Regions from separate parts of the Homo sapiens genome. Here regions 2, 3, 4 and 5 are each linked to region 1. The links are contacts of gene promoters, found by promoter capture Hi-C in blood cells and fetal thymus (Javierre and others, 2016). All regions are on one chromosome and are shown on one strand. Each heading gives the region's core, a stretch centred on a gene start or on the middle of the fragment in contact. The rest is flanking DNA. Distances are from core to core; before and after follow the strand shown. Region 1 holds the start of FGD2 (FYVE, RhoGEF and PH domain containing 2). Region 2 overlaps CPNE5 (copine 5). Region 3 overlaps TMEM217B (transmembrane protein 217B). Region 4 overlaps CPNE5 (copine 5). Region 5 holds the start of CPNE5 (copine 5).

Region 1 (4,204 bases), core at 1-2,500:
GGGCCGGGAGACCAGGTGGTAAAGGAGGCCTCAGGCAAAGACAACCCAGTGTCCTGGGATCAGGGAGGCCTGGGGATGGAGCAGCAAGAACATGGTCATCCAGGCTCCCAACGAACCTTTGCTGGAACTGTAGGACACCCACTTTTGCTTTGGAAATCCAACTTCTCTTGTATTCTTCCTGGGTGACCTTGGGCAAGTTACTTAACCTCTCTGATTCTGTTTCTTCCTATGTAAAGTGGGGATAGGAATAGTACCTACCTCATGAGGTTGTTATAGGATTAATAAGAAAATACTCATAAGCATGAAAAAGAGTGCATGTTAGCTATTATTATCCTCTGAGTTTCAGGGAGGAAACTGCCCTCCCTTGGGGCAATGAGGTGATGACAGCAACAACTAAAATGAGAGAACCCCAGTGGGGAGGTGGGAACATCACAGTACTCCCTGCCACCCTTACCAGGTTTGTGATTATTTTAAATAAAACATGCTGTTTCCTGGCCAGGCACAGTGGCTCACATCTGTAATCCCAGAATTTTGGGAGGCCGAGGCAGGAGGATCACCTGAGGCCAGGAGTTCAAGACCAGCCTGAGCAACATGGTGAAACCCCATCTCTACTAAAAATACAAATAATTAGCAGGGCGTGGTGGCAGGCCCTGTAATCCCGGCTACTCAGGAGGCTGAGGCAGGAGAATCGCTTGAACCGGGAGGCAGAGGGTGCAGTGAGCCGAGATCCCACCACCGCACTCTGTCTCTAAAGAATAAAAAAGACATTATTTCCTTACAGCTGTGAGCAGGGGCAGATGCAGAAAAGAAGGTGCTGGGAAAGAGGCCAAGTAAAAGCCACTGGACCTTCTGAAGGAGAAAGTGTGGTTGGCTGGAACCACTAGGCCAAGAAACCAGCCAAGGGTCTGGCTCCGGGTGGCCTTTTTTTTTTTTTTTTTTTTTAAGAGACGGTGTCTCACTATGTTGCCCAGGTTGGTCTTGAACTCCTGGGCTCAAGCAATCCTCCTGCTTCGGCCTCCCAAAGCACTGGAATTAGAGGTGCAAACCACTGCACCAGCCCAGACTGGGCTCCAGAAGCTACCTCTGGGCCCTGTTGCCACCTCTTAGGTGGCTTCTGGAATGGGGGTCTACAGGTGTGAAAGGTCAGCCCCCCTGAGGGAGAGGTGGGGCCCGAGCAGGCTCCTCCCACTGCGGGAGTGCTGGCCTTTCCCCTGCAGGGCTGTGGCTCTGGGACCACTTCCTCTTTCTTCACTCTGAAGCCAAGAGCCGACCTTCTGAGCCCTCAAGAAAGATCAGAACAGATTCATGGGTGATTTAGCCTATCTGTCCCAGGCCAGCGTGGCTGAGTGTGCTGGCTGGAGGCCTCTCTCTCTGCTTCGAGGGTAGCTGAGATCCACCCCGGAAACCGGCAGGATGAAGGGGGCAAGTGAGGAGAAGCTGGCATCTGTGTCCAACCTGGTCACTGTGTTTGAGAATAGCAGGTATGGGCAGCTGGGGTGGGAGGGTCACCATGGTGGGCTGGCAGCCACCCTCCAGCCTTTCTGGCAGCTCTCTCCCTGGGCCCTGCCCCGGACCCTCCTCCTGCAGGGGCAGCCCCGCGTTCCTCGGTCACGGATTCCTTGGAGCATGGGAGAGTGTCGGTGGGACACCAGGAGCCAGGCAGGGGTGAGAGTGCCAGTGTGTGTTGGGAGAGTCCAGACAGGTGTGGTTACGAGCAAGCATGGGCAGACCAAAGCCTGTGTGTGGGCACAGGACCCCACCCAGTGCCTGCCAGCACCTCTCAGAAAAGGTAGCTGATACTCACCAAGAATTTACGCCCTATGATTAGGATAACCATATAATTTATCATTCAGCACACAATTGAAACTGAAAGTAAATGCCAAATAAAATGTGGTGGTTGTGGGGGAGGCATTACAGGTAAAGCTGGGACCGTATGAGGCAAACCAGGATGTACGGGCAGCATCCTGATGGGGTACTCCCTACTCTAAGTTCATGTCCTTACTTATTTAATTTAGTCATCGAACAGCCTAATAGGGGTAGATTCTGTTTCTGTTCCCGTCTTATAGATGAGGAAATGGAGACACAGAGAGGTGAGGATGCCAAGTGCTTTAAGTATCTGGGGCAATGCTGGGGCGTCTGTCTGGAGGGAAAAGGCTGGGCCAGATGCGTGGAGTCATTGGTAGCCCTGGGAGCATGTGTGTTTGTGTGTGTGCGCGTGTGTGTATGTGTGTGTTGTGTGTTATGTGTGGCATCAATCCATTCTGCAGGCATTTCTTAAGCTCAGGACTGTGTTAGGGGCTGTCCCAGGTAGGGTTTTCTGGAAATAGACTCAGACAGAGGTTTGCCTCAGGTGATTTATCAGGGAGAGCTTTTGGGAACAACAGCTGTGGGTGTGAGGGAAGCAGGGCCGGGCAGGGGGAGATGCTGAACTGCAGTGCACCTGCCACAGAGGCCTCAGCCTGTCCCAGGGAGCTCTGGAGCTGGGATGCCTCTCGGTTGTTCCAGCTGAGGAAGAGGGCTGGGTATTTGTATCTCCATGTGGACTGGACAAGAGACTCTGGGTGAGGCAGCTCTCTCTTCCAGAGAGTGATTCCCAGAGAGGGACTCAGCCAATAAATTACCCGGCAGCCCCCAGTACTACCAGTAGCTGGTGGGGATGGTGTGGGGAGGCCTCATTCCTGAAGGAGGGACATGGGTGGCACAGCACAGCATCCTACAGGAACTGTAGAGGATGAAGAAGGGTTTCAGTATTTGGATGCTGAGCTCATCGAATAACTATGATGCAAGGTCATAGACAGTAGATGTCCTAGGAATGGCCCGGATGCTGTATTGAGGGCACTCATGGCAGGCAATGTTTCCTGTAGGCTTCAGGGTGGAGATGGCATAGATGTAGACCTAGAAGTCTTCAACTTCCTGAGCTGGGTGATTCTCCCCTGCCTCTCCCGGGATCTTTGCCAAGCTCGTCCTGTTCAGCACCAAAGACAGCTCTTGGGTGCCGCCTTCCTGGCCCACCACCCCCTTGGGTGTGGGTGGATGGTACCACCTCACTCAACATGCTTGACGTGGACTAGGCACACCTGGGTGGAGCCCCTCAGCATGCTGTGCTCTGCCCAGGCAATAACCCTGGCAGGAGTGGGCAGCCCTTAGACGGGAGTTAGGTCCCAGCAGGCATCAAGAGGGTGAGAGCCACTCCTTACTGAGTGAGGGGACCCATACCAACTGCCTTGGCCTGGGCTTCCTTATGAGGTCTCCAGCACCTCAGCTGATCTGAAACTGAGGGGCAAAGAGGAAACAGAAGCTGGCCAGGGGCCCTAGAACAGAAATGCAGAACCTGAAACCAAATGTAGAACAGAAAGCCTGAGAACCAGCTACGCCCATGAGCTGCAGACCCATGGGCTGAGAAACCAGGGACTGGGGTGCCAGGGAGGGGTGGGAGAGCCTGGGAGTAGCCACACAGCACTAGGTCCCAATGCTTTCGCTGCCACAAACCCAATTGTGTCACTTGGGGCAAGTCACTTTGACTCCGCGGACCTGTTTCTCCTTTACTCAAATGGGGAGGGGCAGGTTAGAGTGAAGGCTCAGGAAGCAGTCGCCTGATTTGAATCCCACCTCTGCCACTTCCGAGCCGCATGTTACTCATCCTGTCCAGACCTCAGTTTCCTTGAGTGCAAAATATGGGTAATGAAAACCTTTCTCACGGAGTTTTGGAGATTTCGTATTTGTTTGGCCTTCCATTTCCTGGCCTGTCTTTCTCATAAGGATGCCTGCCCTGTTCTGTCATCACAAGCCCTTCCACACCAAGGGCAACGTTGGGTGTATTCATCAAGGGTGGGCCCTGTTGTCTAAGGAATTTGACTGGCTTGCAGAACCCAGTACACAGGGTAATAAAGGTGACCTACGAAGGCCCGTCCCTGGGAGAACAGAGCATCTGCTGCTGGGCTGGCTCTCCCTGCTTCTGGACGTGTGGAGGATGTCGATCCCATTGAGAAGCCCCAGCTTTTGCAGGCCTGCTCTCACTTTATATTGTTCTGTGGCTCCTACCTTCCCTTGATGTATAGGTTACTGATGTGGAAACTGAAAACAGAGGTGAGGTCCAAAGGTGAGGATAATCCAGGGGGTACCACTCAAAAACCCCTATATACAGAAAGGATTCCTGGACACTGTGGCTTCATTTTAAACAAGGAAGTATGCAGTTCCCCAGAAA
Region 2 (4,204 bases), core at 902-3,401, 250 kb before region 1:
CTTGCAGCCTTGGTTTCCTCTTTCATGACTAGGGGATGATAATATCTGCCTCTCAGGGCAACAACCTGTGAAAAGCACCAACGTGGGGAATTTCCCAGGGTAGGGGCCCAATAAATACGACTTCTCTTCCTCTTCCTTCCTGCAGGAAGTCCCGTGGATGTCTCTGCGATTCCTCATGCTAGATACAGCCAGCGCCTGTTGTGTGGTCTGCAAGTCAACTCTCTCCCCTGGCTGTTGCTCCATCTGCCCCACCCCTCCCCACCCCATCTCTCTTGGATGTCTGATTCCCACGCTCAGCCCCTGCACACACACAGACGCACGGGCCTCCCTGATACCAGACCTAGCTTGGGGCTCAGAATGTCTACACCCGGCTGCAGAGACCGGGGTGGCTACTCACTGTGCCAGAATTCACGTATTTCTTTTTCTTCATTTTCTTTTTCGGGTTTACCACCTGCAGGAAAAACCAGTTACCAGGTAAGGCATGCTTCCAGGCAGTCAGGGTGAGTCTTGAGGGCTTCCAACCACCCATGGGTGTGGTCCAAGCCCAGCCCCATTAGAGTGTGGGGTGTGAAGACCACGGGGCCAGGGGAGAAGGGTTTAAGGAGGATTTGTGGGAGACTGGTATTGAGTCTGGGTTACACAACTGGGTTCTCCCATCAGACCCAGGGTCCCACGATCAACCGGGAATATTTATTTAACCTTCTCTCCCACTGTTCCCCGGAACACACGCACCCTCCACCCAGTATAGCCAAAGAAGTCTTGATGTTGCAAAGCGGCCCTATCTGTACCTGTCCCTTGTGTTGGTTGAGGCTGCTCCCCTCACCAAAAATGCACCCCCTTCCTCTCTCAGCCAATTCCAATCTCCCCTGTTCCTCCTTTGGGACCCAGCCCAAGGGCTGCCCAGGGCCTCTGAGGCTCCCCTCTCCATCACCATCCCTCTTACTTGGCAGCAAGAACCTCTTTAGCTATTCTTTGAGTGTAAGCTTTAACTTCCAAACCAGACCTGTGTCAGATAAATCATGGGGCTAGGCTCAGAGTAGGTGCTCAGAGAAGGCTTGTTGGTGGCTAACTCAGCGGTCTCAACCAGGGGCGATTTTACCCCCAGGAACGTTTGGTAACATCTGGAGACGGTTTTGGTTTCCACAACTGAGGGGGTGAGTAGAGGCCAGGCATGCTGCTAAACATCCTACAGTACACAAGACAGCCTCCCACGGCAGGGAGTGATGCAGTCCCAAATCCCAGTAGTGCCAAGGCCAAGACTGGGCAAAGTGACGAGAGCCACCCAGCCCTGAGGCCCCCCACGAGACTTCCGCACTTACTGTATTTGTATTCTCATTTGACCCTCGCCAGTTTTTCTTTGTTTTGTTTTTAATAAGGGAAGTCTAGGCACAACTTTTCCCTAATGTCCCATCAAACAAAGCCAGGCAATTTTCATACCTCCTGTGCTGCCTGTTGGTTTCTGGTGAACTCATTTCCCCTTTCCCTGTCTTTGTTCCCACAGAGGCCGTCAGCTGATCTTTACCGTGGTCTCTTCTGTCTGGGTGAGTATTGCTATCTACTTCCAGCAAGAAGGAAACTAAAGCACAGCGACACCAGGTGATTTGCCTAAAGTCACACAGCCATCTGGGTAGTGACAGGATTAGAAACCAGGTTTCCTGCCCCCGGGCCAGTGGTGCATACATTGGTGCCACCTTGATAACAGATACAAACAGATCTCTTTGACATACATTTATGGGGTGGGTGGAGACATATATTGCTTCTCCCCTGGAATCATCTATCACCTATGTTGGAGAGAGAAGATATGTCCTCAGGGCAAAAAGTGACAAGGGCCATGGAACAAGGGGGATCACAGAAGTGTCAGGGGAGTTAGAGGAAGGAAAGACCACTCTAGGTGAGAGTGTCAGCAAAGCCTCTCTGGAGCAGGAAGTCTTGAAGGCAGACTTAGAGGCACAGGAAGGCTCTGGGCACGGAGAGATGGATGTCAGAGGAGGTTCTGTGGGAGAAATGAATAGAACCCAGGCCCAGTTTGATGGCAGAACCACAGGGTGGAAGAGTAAGCTGGGCTGGTTGGAGGAGAGCCTAGAATGCCCAGTGAAAAATGTCTGAATGTCACCCAGCGGCCTGCAGGGAACTCTGATGACCCCCAAGCTGGTAGGAGACAAAATCAGAGCAGGCTCTAGGACACTGGGGCCTGGTGGAGGTGAGTGTGAGGGGAGGAGGAGGCTCATCCAGGAAATATTTGCCTAGTTCTGCCACCTAATAATAGCTGTGTGACCTTAGGCAGGTTACTTAACCTCAATGTGCCTCAGTCTCCTCATCTCTAAAATGGGAATAAGAAGTACCTGCCTCCCGGAAAGGTATGAGGATTAAATGGGCCAATGCAAGCAAAGTGCCTAGAACAGTTTGGAATGTAGTAAGTATTATCTATACGTGTCTGTTGCTTTTTTCTAAGACGGGGTCTTGCTCTATGGCCCAGGCTGGAGTGCAGTGGTGGGGTCATAGCTCACTGTGGCCTCAACCTCCCGGGCTCAAGCAATCCTTCCAGGTAGCTGCCACCATGTCTGGCTATTTTTTTTTTTTTGGTAGAGATAGGATCTCGCTATGTTACTCTGGCTGGTCTCAAACTCTTGGGCTCAAGCAATCCTCCTGCCTCAGTCTCCCAGAGTGTTGGGATTACAGGCGTGAGCCACTGCACCCAGCCTTAGTTGCTATTTTTCAAAATTACTACTACTATTATTACTGCCACCATAAGTCCATGCGAGAGGTCATGAGGACTTGGGGGTATTGGGACAGGTGCTGAGCTATGGTGAGAACAGCGCTGTCAAGAAGTGACCACGCCTCTTGGGCCCTGGGCGTGGCTATAGAGGTTCGAGAGAGGGAGGGGTTGGGGTGACCAGGTAGACACAGAAGGAAGGCGCTGGATTTGGGGCACAGGTGGGAAGTTCACGTGGGAGGTCTGGCAAGCTGTGCAGGTAGAAACTGAGGGCCTGGGCGAGATGGTGAGAGAGCCCGGGAGAGAAGACCAGAGCACCCTCTTTAGCACTGGAGGACGCCCCCTCCACGGGGTTACCCAGATGGTGAGGTGCTCACGGACACATTCATGGGAAAACAGCTTAAGTAGGCAAGCTGTTAAGATGAGGGCAAAATGGCAGCCCCAGTGCTGCACTGTGCCTCAGTTTCCCAATCTCTCCCTTGAGGGTGTTGAACTATCGGAATGGACAGCATCTCAAACTTTTGCTCCAACATAGCCCTCCCAGCTGGGGAGAATGAACCCGGAGTCCTGAGAGTAACCAAAGATTTGGCCACAAGCATGTTTCTTCTAAGCTTTCTATGTTATCTTTAAATTAGCCTGTATTCCACATTTCCACTCTCTGATATAACTGCTTTAATGTTAAAGCAATGTTCTGTTCTCAGATCCCTGTTTACCCTGAGGTTTCATGCTCCCAGCCTCAGCCTCTCCAGCCCCGCCACGGTGAATCCCATGCAGGGGGCCAGCGCCACCTAGGGGCCAGCCGAGGAGCTGCCCCTCCACTAAGTCACCTCCCTTCTTCTTGGTGGTCAGGCGGGGACAGGACAGGTCTGGAATCTGCCCTCCTGCGCACATTAGGTGGGGTGGGTGGGGGCACTGAGGGGCTCCTAGGGGCCAGGAGCTGTGCTGGCTCTGGGGATGCAGCAGTAAGTGCAACACAACCCCCACCCTGAGGACTTCAAGGTCTTTGAGGGGTTGAATAGTGTCACAAAACAGAAAATAGCCAGAAGGAACCCCAGGAGCACTGACAAGTGTCCACTCCAGGCTCTGGGGTGGGGCGGGTGTGCAGGTGGACACAACTTCCTGGAGGAGGAACACCCACAGGGAGGCTCCGTGGACCAATAGCTCCTACCCAGGAGAAGACAAGAGGGAGTCTCAGGTGGAGGCACCCATATGAATCGAGCCCTGGAGGCTGAGACAGCACGGAGGTTCAGAGAGCCTCAGGTGGCAGGACGGGGATGAATGTGGGAATGGGCAGAGGGAAGGGGCAGGGGCCAGCTCCTAGGGGCCTCCAAAGGCATGTGATGTGTGTTTTTATTTACATGCACAGCCAGGCGTGGTGGCTCACACCTGAAATCCCAGCACTTTGCAAGGCCGAGGCGGGTGCATCACCTGAGCTCAGGAGTTGGAGGCCAGACTGGGCAACATGGCAAAAACCCATCTCTACCAAAAATG
Region 3 (4,204 bases), core at 707-3,206, 230 kb after region 1:
AGATGCATTTTTGACTTAACAATATTTTCAACTTATGGGTTTATTGGGACATAACCTCATCGTAAGTTGAGGAGTACCTGTGCTTATGAAGTTGTAATCTTGATATAGCCACTAGTGATGATACAGTTAAGAGTTTGGGAGGAATGGCAGTGAGTGTGTGTGTAGAGGATAAGAAGTCCACATCTGGCCAGATGTGGTGGCTTGTGTTTGTAGTCCCAGCTACTCAGGAGTCTGAGGCAAGAGAATTACTTGAACCTAGGAGGCAGAGGTTGCACTGAGCCGAGATGGTGCCACTGCACTCCAGCCTAGGCGACAGAGTGAGACTCCATCTCAAAAAAAAGAAAATAAAATAAATATCGGTATACACATGTAATTTTGAGATAAAGAGATAAATAGGAGGGGAAATAGAAGAACTGAAAGTGGTTACCTGTGAAAAGTATGAATAGGGATAGGGAAGGAAGAAAAGAGAAATGCTGGTTTTATTATAAGGTTTACATATTAATATTACACACCCATGCACAATTTTAATAAAAATAAATTTATGAAAATATAATTATTTCATGAATTCCTAATAAACCCAGATCATTAAATAAATCCCACTGGCTACCCTTATGCTGGTGTGGCTTTTTAAAAAACACAGTATCTTCTTAACTGCAAAATGGTTAAAGCTGGCAATGTGGAAGGACAGCTGGATAACTCTGTCATAGTCTAAACCATGAGCTAAAAACATTATCATGAGAAGTAGCTGGGGATAGAACAAAGCTTTTTTTACTTGTGAAAATTTCTGGAAATGATATATTACTTCAAATACTACACAATTGGAAGTGATTCCAATTCCATCTTGGAATGTTGGCAACATTTTAAATTGTTTTAAATTAAAGATATCTGTCTTAGACCATTTATGCTGCTATAACAGAACACCACAGACTGGGTAATATATAAAGAATACAAATGTATTTCTTTTATTATTATTTTTTTTTGAGACAGAGTCTTGCTCTGTCGCCCAGGCTAGAGTGCAGTGGTGCCATCTCGGCTCACTGCAAGCTCCGCCTCCCAGGTTCACGCCATTCTCCTGCCTCAGCCTCCTGAGTAGCTGGGACTACAGGCACCCGCCACCACGCCTGGCTAATTTTTTCTATTTTTTAGTAGAGATGGGGTTTCACCATGTTAGCCAGGATGGTCTCGATCTCCTGACCTTGTGATCCGTCCACCTTGGCCTCCCAAAGTGCTGGGATTACAGGCGTGAGCCACCACGCCTGGCCTAATGTATTTCTTATGGTTCTGGAGGCTGGAAAGTCCAAGATCAAGGCACTGGCATTAGTGTCTGGTGAGGACTGCTCTCTGCTTCCAAGATGACGCCTTGTTGCTGTGTCCTCACAGGGAGGAAAGTAGAAGGGCAAGGGGACCTAAACTAGTTCCCTCTAGTCCTTTTATAAAGCACTAACCCATTTTGAAGGAACCCTCATGACTTAATCCCTTCCCCAAAGTCCCTATCTCTTAATACCACCACTATGGGGATTAAGTTTCAACACATGAATTTTGGAGGGGTCAAACACATTCAAACCACAGCAATATCTTTATGTAGAGTTTAAAATATTCATACTAGAAAAATAAAGCTAGATAAATAAAAAATCATTACCATAACAAAACATTGTAAAATAAAGCTGATTTTTATCCTTTCATCCCACTTTAACATCATCGTGTTTGAACTGAAAAAAGTGTGTAGTGTTTATTTTATTTTTAATTTAAAAACAATTTAAAAAAACAGAGACATGGTCTCACTATGTTGCCCAGGCTGGTCTTGAACTCCTGGGCTCAAGTGATTCTCCCACCTCTGCCTCCCACGAGTGCTAGGATTACAGGCATGAGCCACTGTGCCTGGCCATTTATTTTTAAATACTCTTTGTTTTTTAGGCCCTGAACTAAGCATTTATCATTTGCCAATCTGCAGCTCAGTTTAACCCTTTCTGAGTGGGTTATTTTTAGAGTATGAGCATGTGTATTTTTTTGGTGGTAGCATTGCCCTCCCAGGTTCAATCCTGGGGTGGGAGAGTAAGCTAATTAGTTGTGTTCTGAGTAACCAAGGATATCCTGAAAATGCAAGGGAATAATAGGCCATTATAGGGAGGGTATCAAGGTTGAGATCCGCAAATTTGCAAGTCAAATGCCCAGGCTTCAATCTTGGCTTCACCATTTACTGTGAATTTATTCTCTCCAAGTCTCAGTTTGCTCATCTTTAAATTGGATGTGCCAGTACTATTTTTTTTTTTACTAATTTTATTAATTTCTATAACAAATTACCCCAAAACTTAGTAGCATAAGATAACCATTTATTATGTGAATGGATTCTGTGGGTGAGGACTTCAGACAGAGCACAGTTAGCTTAATTTTGTACATTGTGGGGAATTTAGACAGGGCATGTCCAGGATGACTTGCTACTTCTCCTCAAACTTTGTAGCCTCTCCTAGAAGACTCACTCAGATGCCTGGCGATTGCTCTTGGCTGTCAGTTGGAGGCCTCAGTGCCCATCCATGTGGGCTTCTCCATGGTCTCTCTGTGTGGGCTCCTTTGGGCTCCTTCACAGCCTGATGACTGGCTTCTCCAGAATGAGTGTCCCAAAAAGAGCAAGCCAGATGGAAGCTGTATCACCTTTTCTTATTCTAGCCTCAGAAGTCCCATAGCAACACGTTTCCTGGACACTATTCTTTAGAAGTGAGTCACCAAGGCCATATTCAAGGGGAGAGGAATTAGATTCTACCTTTTGTGGGAGAAGTGTTAAAGAATTTGCCAAGATGTAGGGACTTCTGAGTATCTGAGTGTTCACAATCAAAGTTCCCGCATTTGCCAGGTTGCCCAGGGAAACAAAAGTCATCATGACAAGAAAATATTCACAAGTGAATTGACATTCTCTGCCTCCCTCAGTCCTGCAACATTCCTCCTTGCTGAAATGAAGGGCTCTCTGTGTGCACCAAGACCCCATCAAGTCAAAATCTTTATTGGTCAGCCTCTCTCTGGTAGCCCACTGTAAATATCTGACAACACACAACACAAGGCAAGTCGTTTGCAAGAAATTATTGCAAGTCTTGCAGAAGATTCAGGACTTCATGCAGACATTAAAAAGGATATTGGAAAACTGCTAGAATCATATGCAAAGCTTGAATGTAACAGAATTAGACCAGTTAATAACCAGAAAAGAGAAAATCAATAAGAATGTTATAGGCACTTCAGTAAAGAATGGTTTCAGGATGAATAAACTGCTACATATTTGCACAATGGGAGTGTTAAACAGGAGTCAAAAGGAACAACTGTAGCAACATACAACAATATGGTAGAATCTTAACAATGTAATATCAAGTGAAAAAAGTACTAAAGACATACAGTTAAAAACAACCATCTTTCTCTATATATATACACACACACTACACACACATATTTTTAGGACTTTATATAGATGCAAGAAAACTCTAAAACTGTATGAAAAGCAAAGTGAAGGATAATGAGCTCAGAATTCTGGATGATGATCACCTTGGCCAGGGGAGGAAGTAAAATGTGTTGGGGGTACCATACAGCCAGATGCAAATTGCTGACCAGACACTAATTTTATTTTGGACAGGGGATTTGAAGGTGTCTATATATTATTTACAATAACTAATATTTAAAAAGTAAACAAAAGAGAGCCATGCATGGACCAATGAGGGTATGTCATGAACCAGGGATTATGATCAATCTAATTGTATGTATATAAAGTAGAATTAAAAACACTGAAAAAAAAAAACCAAGGATAGTAACATTTACCTCACAAAATTGCTGTGAAGATTAAATGAGTTAACATATTTAAAACATTCAGAACAGTTCCTGGCACATAGTAAGCACTTACACAATATAATTATGTAAGTATTTTTGTTATCATTATTTTTACTTTATGCCAAGGAGTAGCTACTATTTATTATGCATATAAAACTACTATTTATTAAGCTGTGTTGTAGCAGACACCGTTAGCTTCCTTCCCAATACCTATTTCCACCTTCTTTGCTACCAGAAGTCTGCTTTCTCTCAGGATGGCAATGAGCCCAGACCCAGGCAAAATATGTGCTTTTCCAGGTTTTTGCTTGTATCCAGGGTGTTCATGGCACACAGTTCTAGCAAATGACATATAAGCAGAAACCTGCTGGAAGATCTAGGAAGACTTTTGCCTTTCCTGGTA
Region 4 (4,204 bases), core at 568-3,067, 200 kb before region 1:
TGCTTCCAGATTTCTTTTCTTTTTTCTTTTTTTTTTGAGAGGAGTTTTGCTCTTGTTGCCCAGGCTGGAGTGCAGTGGCGCGATCTTGGCTCACTGCAACCTCTGCCTCCTGTGTTCAAGTGATTCTCCCGCCTCAGCCTCCCCAGTAGCTGGGATTACACGTGCCTGCCACCACGCCTGGCTAAGTTTTGTATTTTTAGTAGAGGCGGGGTTTGGCCATGTTGACCAGGCTGGTCTCGAACTCCTGACCTCAGGTAATCCACCCCCAACCGTCGGCCTCACAAAGTGCTGGGATTACAGGCATGAGCCACTGTGCTCAACCTGCTTCCAGATTTCTAAAATCTGGGCCCCTTCTTCCTCCTCATCACCCACCAGCTGGGAGGCAGCAACAGACAGCACAAGGACATCTCCCGGCACGTGAGTCAACTCCCCACAAATGCCCATGGCTGCAGAACATTGGGGCCCAGGGCCAGGGAGGGCCCAGGACCCTCCCAGGCCTGCCTTGTGTTGCTTACGATCTGCCTGAGACACCCCCTGAGAGGGTGTACCTCCCTGTTGCTTAAACAGAGTAAATCATTCCTTCCTCCAGATGGAGGACAGAAGGGACATGCAGGGAGTGTCTGTTGCAGAGCTGGTCTCCAATACTGATAGTAACCCTCACAGAGCCCTACTGCGTGCCACGCACTAAGTGTTATCCATAAGGTCATTCATTTAAGCTTCATAACAACCTTCCGAAGCAGAACTATTATCCCCACTTTACAGATAAGTAAATTAAGATAAGGCTCAGAGAGATTGAGAGACTTGCCCAAGGTCACACAGCTAGCAGGCGATAGGAACGGGATTCAAACCCAGGCTGGCTGGCTCCAAATCAATAAGGAGTTGATATAGTCACTATTCAGTAAGAGGCTTATGCTGTGAATGGAGGCTGGGACTAGGTCTGACAGTTTTCAGCCCTGTAGTTTCTCTACTCCCTAGCGCAGTCTCTGAACTTCTGGGATTACTGTGCCTGCTCCCTTGTTAACACTCCCTGTGGGTCTGGGTGGACCCACAGATCAGGTCATAATGTGAGTGTCCCTGACCTAACACCCTGCCCAACCTCTATCCCTCCCCTTGCAGCCCCTACGCAGAGAGAGAGAGAGGAGAGAGAGAGAGGAAGGGAGAGACAGAGAGAGAGAGAGATTGAGAGAGAGAGAGGAGGAGGAGAGAAAGAGTCCTCAACCCTCCTGTGATTTCCTTTTAAAAATGTTAACAAGTTGGGCAGCACTTTGGGAGGCAGGAGGATCGCTTGAACCTAGGAGTTCGAGACCAACCTGGGCAACATAGTGAGATCCCATCTCCACAAAAAATAAGAAAATTAGCCAGGCATGGAAGCACACGTCTGTAGTCCCAGCTACTTGGGAGGCTGAGGCAGAAGGGTCAATTGAGCCCAGGAGATTGAGGCTGCAGTGAGCCGTGATTGTGCCACTGCACTCCAGCCTGGGCGACAGAGCACGACGCTGTCTCAAAAACAAAAAAACAAACAACAACAACAAAAAGCCAAAACAACAACCAAAAAAAAAATCAAATTGACTTAGGACCTGATTTTAGAGCTGGAAGAAACCAAATCCTCTCAATTAACACATGAGAAAACAAAGGCAGAGAAGGTGGGAGGGGGGCTGTTCTGACCACGGTCACACAGCTCATTAGGAAATGGATGCTGACGGGTACCCCAGCCAGTGGGGCTCCCAGCGCTGAGTGGAGCCCTGGTTCACCCAGAAGCCTGTGGACATCCCTGCTCAGGTTTCTCCCTTCCACCCGATCCTCCTCCTCCTCCTTCTGCTTGGTATCCTGACTTCTCAACTTTGAAACACTTCCATACATCCACGATCTCATTTAACCCCCTCCAATGACCCCGTGACAATGAAATTATTATCATCTCCACTTTACCGATGAAAGAACGGAGCTCTTGGAGGCCAGAGAAGCCCTCCCAGAGGCAACCCATGGTGGGCGAGGAAGGGCCGGGACTCTCAGGAGTGAGAAAGGCAGAGCATCCCTGGTGCTCACCACAGCCCCTACCTCAGGCATGCGTGGGTGGCTCTCTGCAAGCCTGAACAATCTTCATGGCCCTGGATTTAGGCAGCTCTTGCCTTTTTACAAATTACAGCTGGATTGAGCTTCGGAGCCATCCCCCAGCTGCAAAGCCCCCAGGGGCTGTGCCGGTGGGATAGGAGGCTGGAGCTGACAGACTGCTGTCTACCTCACAAGCTGCTCACCCTTCCCCAGCCGTAGATCCCTCAATACTTTTCATATATTATTGATGGCTCCTTAATTGGGGATTCTAAAAGCCTCGCTGCAGAGCCCAGCCCTGGCCCCTCATGAATCATGTTCACTAGGATTAAAATTAGAGGCCAGAAAGCTACCTGACTCAAATAGAAACGGAAAAAGGGAATGTGCTTTCCAAGGCTGGCCCTGGGAATAGGAGCCAGGTGGGGGCGCCCAGTGGCTGGGAAGAGTGGCCTGAGATCTGGGGACAGGAAAGGAGGGCCTGGGGAGGCGGAGGAGCACGGAGGATCTGGCCATGCCAGGCCTGCACCATCTTGGGTCTGGAAAGTTCTCTCTGGTTCTGTCACTGAAGGAGTCCAGAATTCTGTGGCCACCCCTCCTCGTTGCAGTGAGGAAAACCAGGCCCAGAGAGAGATGGGGCTTGCCTAAAATTACAGGGAGTGAGCCATGACCTTGGCACCTTTCGTTTCGTAGGCCTGGTGACCTCCCAAATGGCTGCCTGTTTTGTTAAGGCTTCCAGGTAAGGCAGGGCAGAGGTGGAGACAGGGGCCCTGAGTTAGGGAAGCCCAGGCTCTAAAGGCCTCCCTGTTCTCAAGCCTGGTCAGAGAAGCCTCCCTATCTCGCCCAGAGACCAGGGTCAGGGTATGAAACTTTACCAAGCTTAGAATGAAAGACTTCCTGCCAAAAAGCTTAGTTCCTAATTAGCCATTGTTTCAGATAATCTGTTCAATCATCCCAGCTCCTCGGGGAACGGGGAACGACCCTTTACCAATGAGCCTGGCTGCCAAGCTGCCAACAAAACACTCTCCACCACCTTGTCCCCACCCCCAGCCTTCTAGCCCCGGGTCTGACTGTAGAGGGTGGGGGGCCTGAGCAGTCCCCACCCTAAAGGAAGCCAAGCATCATGGAGGGGGCCCTGGGACTTGTCCCCCAGCTCACTCCAAAACATCGATAGCTCCTGCCAAATGGCATCACGATGTCTGAAATGATACTGTCAATGGTTCCTTCCTCCAGATAAAGCATTGGTTTCTTACTTAGGGCTTCTTATAAGAAGAGCCATTATTGAGCTTTTTCTGCAGGCCAGGCACTTTACACGAATTAGCTTATTTACTCCTCACAGTAGGCTTGTGAGCCTAAGTGCTTGGCCAAGATCCCCCACCTGGGCAGGTGGTGGGCCCATTTTTAAACTTGACTTTGGAGTGCACACTTTCAACAGCTCAGCCACAACTGTAGAGTGCACCTGGACACTAACACTGAAAAGCAAATAGATCTATCAGCCACCAGGGGACCTGGCCTAGAACTCAGGGTTTATTAGAAAAGCCAACTCCTTTCTTCAAATGAAATCTCAGGCTCATGTCTAATGTATTACACAGAAATAATGAACACCTCTGCTTGAAGGAGGAAAGGGAGGCAGGGGCTACACACATATTCACGGTGGATCCTGGAGCTGCCACCCTCAAATCCTGGGGATAGAAAAGCACACTTTGGGCTGGGCGCAGTGGCTCATGACTGTAATCCCAGCACTTTGGGAGGCCGAGGTGGGCGGATCTCCTGAGCTCAGGAATTTGAGACCAGCCTGGCCAACATGGTGAAACCCCATCTCTACGAAAAATACAAAAATTAGCTGGGGGTGGTGGCATATGCCTGTAATCCTAGTTACTCGGGAGGCTGAGGCAGGAGAATTGCTTGGACCCAGGAGGTGGAGGTTGCAGTGAGCCGAGATTGTGTCACCACACTCCAGCCTGGGCGACAGAGTGAGACTCCGTCTCAAAAACAAACAAACAAGAAAAGCCCACTTTGAAAGTCAGTGGCCTGGGCAGAGGAGAAGACCAGGGACTCCGACTCGGAAAACCACATTCACATCCCAGCTCTGCCACTTCCTAGCTGTGTTGCTGGGCAAAGCCAGGATCCCTCTGAGCTCTGCTTCCTCATCTGGGTGTGG
Region 5 (4,204 bases), core at 742-3,241, 170 kb before region 1:
ATGGGTCTGACTCAGGGTGGGAATCCCTGCCCTCAAATGCTTACACAGTTGCTTTGAGAGGGGAGGGATGACGTCTGCACACCTGAGACGTCTCAAGAGGTTTCATCCTCAGTATGTGAGTGACCCTGTGGCCCAGGCTGAGTACCTAGGGCCCACGGGACACAGAAGACAATGATTTGAGCTGTGTGTCTCATGGGTGAGAGGATGCCTGAAAGTGGGGAGCGTGAGGCCAGGCTTTTCAGGAGTGGGGGGATCATGAACTTGGGGAGATAAAGGAAGAGTGAAATCTGGATGGGGAATGGGCTGTTCAGAGGCTTGGAGGTGGGAAGGATCCCAAGACAACTGAAGATGACAGGCATGATTGAAGGCTGGGAGGGAGTGCCAGGCGCAGGGATGTGCGTGCAGGAGAAGGGTGGGGAGGCCGTGCTGCTTTTGATGGCTGAGGAGGTGAGACTGGAGCTAATGGGCCATCAGGAATCTCCCAGCAGAGTAATGACAAGATGCAAATGGCGTTGGGAGATGATCCTGACGGCATGGTGTATGGGACCTGGGAGCTATCACAGGAGCCCCCAGAGGGCCTGGCTTAGGGGGGAAGCTACGTTCAACCAGACTAGCCTTCACTGCCACTTATCCCCAAGTCTTCAAGAGAAAGTCACACTGAGTCCTTCCCTCCTTCACGCCCCTGCCCAGACTCTCCAGCTCTACCTACACCTCATCAATGCCACAACTTTGTAATACAGGACTGGGGGGCAACAAGGTTACCTCTCATGGAGGGTCTGACCAAGGAGCAACCTGGAAGAGGATGAGATGGGTGATTTCGAACAAGGGCACAGCCAGGGCTCCAGAAATGCTGTCGGTGATCTGGGGCAGGGGGCATGGCCTCTGTGGGGGAACCTCAAAGTGGGTGATGCTTGCGTGGCAGCACATGATCCTAGGCCAGCCACAGAGAGACTGAACTAGGGAAAAATCCCCCTTTGCCACCCATACCCTCTTACTGCCAGGGGCAGCCTTCCCCTAGCTAGGAGAACCTGGGGTCGACCCAGCTCTTAGACAGAGAAGTTACCCCCAAACCCTGTGTGACATGAGTGAAGATTTGGGCGTGGTAGCCCACAAAAATATTCCCCCTCCTCCTCTGTTGGACTCTACAGTTTCACAATCAGTGTTCTATTCCTTTGGCTTAAGATTTTTGACCCAAGTTATTTTTTTAATGGTGCCACTTTAAGTTGTTATCATGTATCCACACCTTAGTATGAATGAGTCAATCTGATCCTTTTCCAGGAGTCGATTTCGTTGTTGATAGAGATGAAGGAAGGCTTTAAAATCCTAGAGTCTAGGACAGTGGGGTGGGGGAGACTGGTGAGGGGAGGATCAGGATGCTGGGGCAAAGAAGGGGCAAAGAGAGAAGAGAGGAGGGCACAGAAGGGAGAGGGTGGACGAGCCTGGGAGGGATGGGGGCAAATCACTCACTTCGTGATTTGGGGATGGGGTGATCAGAGATAGCCTGAGCAGAGACCGTAGTACAGCCTTTTACCAACTCCCTCTCCCCACTTGGGTGCCTGGACCCCCTGTTCCTGTGTCTTCATATCTCCTCGATGCAACAGCCTGGAGCGCAAACTTTCTGGGATATGACCCCAGCCTGGCTTCCTATTCTGCCGTCGCCACCCGCAGCTGGACAGGACAGGGGCTCTTGGCAGATCGGCAGGGGCGCAGTCCTGGAGACCAGGACACTCTGGGAAGGGGGCGCGCGGAGGTTTAGGATCGAAGCGGCAGGGGCCGCGGGGCTCTGCGTCCAGGGCCGGGGCAAGGGGACCCGGCCAGCGGGAGGCTCACCTGCAGGACACGGTGATCTCCACCTTGGTGGCCGGGATGCTGCCCGCCAAGGAGTCGAACTCGCTCAGCGACGCCATGTCCTCAGGCTGCTCCATCGCCCACCGCACCCCCCACCCCAAATTAGTCAATCCCTGCGCGATTCACGCCTCCTCCGGAGCGACTGGAGCCCTGGGCTCTCCCCCAACTCCAGAGCCTGGGCTGGGCGGCAAGGGGAGGAGAGAGGAGCGCGAAGAGGGGGCGTGGGAAGTGAGAGAGGGAAGAGGGCGGAGGGAGCGGGGGCCGCGGATCGAGGAGGGGGCTCGGGTGACGCCGCGAGGAGGCTAGGGGCCCAGTGGGGAAGGGCAAGGAGCCCAGGGAGCGGGGGCACAGCGGGGAAGGCAGAGAGGGGCGCGGGGAGAGGGGCTCGGGGAGAGGGCACCGGGAGGGAAACGCGGAGTCGTGGAGAGGGGCACCAGGAGAGGGACGCGCGTCTGTGGGCAGAGGTAGAGGGGATGCAGAAGACAGGGAGAGGGGCGTGAGGAGCGGGAGGCGCCGGATGGGGCGCTGGCGGCGGGGGTGGCGGGGCGCCGGCAGCGCGGAGCCCGAGCGCCCGGGCTGCGCCGCCTCTCCCTGGGTCTTGGCGCCGGCGGCGACGGGGCTGAGACGCGGCTGCGAGCGCCACCTCCTCGGCTCGGGCTTCGGCTCCGGGGCGCCCGGGCTGCGGGAAAATCAAATCTGCCCGAAGCCGCAGCCTCCCGCCGCCCGGGAACGCCAGAGGGGGCGCCCGCAGGGGCCGGGGCGGGGCCGCGGGCGGGGTCTGCGCGCAGGGTGAGTGTGAGCGTGTGTGTGTGCGCGTGTGTGTGTGTGTGCGCGCGTGGCGGGCCGGGGGACGCGGTCCAGATGCTGGGGACGTGGCGGGTGACAGCAAGAGGTGGTCCTGGTCGCGCGCATCTTCATTTGCGCCCGCCCCCTCTCACCACCCCTATCTCCCATCAGGGGTCTCCATCCTGGGGGAGGGGGAGGGTTATGGGAACCAACGGGCGCCTTTTTGAGAAAGGTCTATGCAGGGTTGAGAGGGGGCATAAGTGGGAGGGAGGTGTGCAAAAAAGATCCCCTCCCAGGGGCTTGGGTGTGGAGGGTCTCTGCTGAGTGTGCGCCCTACTCGGGGGCGGGTCTCAGTTCAGAAACAGACCCTACATCTCCTTCTGGGGAGGTGTGTGGGGGCGACCCCAGTGCCAGGAGGGACTACCTCGGTTTCCCAGTGGCCCAGGTGGGGTCGGTGCATGGGCGCCTCCCCCATCCGTGGTTCCCGCCAGCCGCGGCCTCGCCAAGTCGGCTGCCGAAACCACGCGCCAGCGCCCTTCCACTCCCCCGCCCGTCGTGACCACACGACTGAGCCAGCCTCCAGGTCTAGAAGCTCCTGCCACCCAGTCTGGTGGCAACCAGACTGGGAGATCGGCCCGAGCTCCCTGGGCTTCTATGCAGCCAGCACCGAGTAGGCGCGTGCTGTGTGCCTGGCGAGCGAGGGGAGAGTTGGGACACCTCTCCTGCAGTCCTCTTCCCAGCCAAGCCCCTCGCGATCCCCCGCCCTAGCCCAGCCTTGCCCTCCCGGGCATGAGGTTGCAGCGCAGAGGCGTCTCCCTGAGTAAGGCTGCACACGTAGACTTGACTCTAGCCCATCCTCAGCCTCAGCCTAAGCTTTGCCGAGCTGGAACCTCCACTTCCTCGCCCACCGCCTGGCACATCGAAGCCGATGTGCCTCGGGCCGGCGGGGAGGCCAAAAACCTGGTGCTGGGCTGGGCAGAGTTGCGCTCTCTGGGCCTTGTTTGTGGCAGCGGGACCATAAGGGGCTCCTCCGGATTCTGTTTGAAGTCAATTCCTGGAACATCAGATACTGTCAGTCAAAGATAAATACAAGAACACATTCCTCTGCCTGTTACAATTTCCCCATGGCTCAGAATCAGCTGGACTGGGTTCTGCCTCCTGGAACAGGCAGCAAGGGACAGAGGCTGTTAATTCCCCTGACAGCCAGGCACAGCTGGGTCAGGAGGCCCCACTCCAAGGAGAATAATTCTGTCTTCCCTTCCTGAGGATGCAAAACTGAACTCGGAATCTCTATGTTCCCCATCCCCCACATACCTGGCATAAACAATGCTCAAAGCATGCTTGTGGAATATGTTCTCCATTCATTCCAGGAGTGTTTACTGAGCATCTGCTGTGTGCCTGGCCCAGTGACAGGGCCTTGGGAAACCTTGTTCATAACAATAATTAGCATCGTTTTATTTTCAAAGATCTGGGCCAGACACCATGCTTACTTTTTTTTTTTGAAATATTAGTCACATACCATAAAATTACCATTTTAAGTTGTATAAATCAGCGGTTTGTAGCATATTCA

What was found. Contacts are between HindIII fragments. The CHiCAGO score rates a contact against its expected background, and 5 or more counts as called.
Region 2: a fragment that was not itself captured here is called in contact with the fragment with the promoter of FGD2 in region 1 in 5 of 17 cell types (erythroblasts, M0 macrophages, M1 macrophages and 2 more); the score reaches 7.7 in erythroblasts.
Region 3: a fragment that was not itself captured here is called in contact with the fragment with the promoter of FGD2 in region 1 in 12 of 17 cell types (activated CD4 T cells, total CD8 T cells, naive CD4 T cells and 9 more); the score reaches 9.4 in activated CD4 T cells.
Region 4: a contact is called between a fragment that was not itself captured here and the fragment with the promoter of FGD2 in region 1, in 3 of 17 cell types (erythroblasts, activated CD4 T cells and endothelial precursors). The highest score is 6.6, in erythroblasts.
Region 5: a contact is called between the fragment with the promoter of CPNE5 here and the fragment with the promoter of FGD2 in region 1, in 17 of 17 cell types (erythroblasts, activated CD4 T cells, neutrophils and 14 more). The highest score is 18.8, in erythroblasts.

What each region holds. Positions count from the first base shown.
Region 1 is chr6:37,004,405-37,008,608 of GRCh38, forward strand. FGD2 (FYVE, RhoGEF and PH domain containing 2) reads left to right here and starts at 1,251. Exons shown (of 16, transcript NM_173558.4): 1 at 1,251-1,481. The coding sequence starts at 1,414. RefSeq lists a silencer at 849-1,011 and enhancers at 1,267-1,396, 3,217-3,386. The HindIII fragment of the contact is 9,965 bases long and covers 1-4,204 here.
Region 2 is chr6:36,755,848-36,760,051 of GRCh38, forward strand. CPNE5 (copine 5) reads right to left here. Exons shown (of 21, transcript NM_020939.2): 13 at 398-451. Among named protein-coding and RNA genes, the nearest start is that of RAB44, 60 kb to the left of the region's middle. RefSeq lists enhancers at 1-714, 3,400-3,589, 3,425-4,204. The HindIII fragment of the contact is 2,341 bases long and covers 982-3,322 here.
Region 3 is chr6:37,234,404-37,238,607 of GRCh38, forward strand. All of the region lies in intron 1 of TMEM217B (transmembrane protein 217B), which reads right to left. All of the region lies in intron 1 of TMEM217 (transmembrane protein 217), which reads right to left. Among named protein-coding and RNA genes, the nearest start is that of TBC1D22B, 21 kb to the right of the region's middle. The HindIII fragment of the contact is 2,392 bases long and covers 761-3,152 here.
Region 4 is chr6:36,808,073-36,812,276 of GRCh38, forward strand. The region is part of intron 3 of CPNE5 (copine 5); the gene reads right to left. Among named protein-coding and RNA genes, the nearest start is that of CPNE5, 29 kb to the right of the region's middle. RefSeq lists a silencer at 2,952-3,120. The HindIII fragment of the contact is 2,206 bases long and covers 715-2,920 here.
Region 5 is chr6:36,837,453-36,841,656 of GRCh38, forward strand. It overlaps CPNE5 (copine 5), which reads right to left and starts at 1,992. Exons shown (of 21, transcript NM_020939.2): 1 at 1,831-1,992. The coding sequence starts at 1,925. RefSeq lists a silencer at 2,456-2,665 and an enhancer at 3,350-3,900. The HindIII fragment of the contact is 11,867 bases long and covers 1-3,505 here.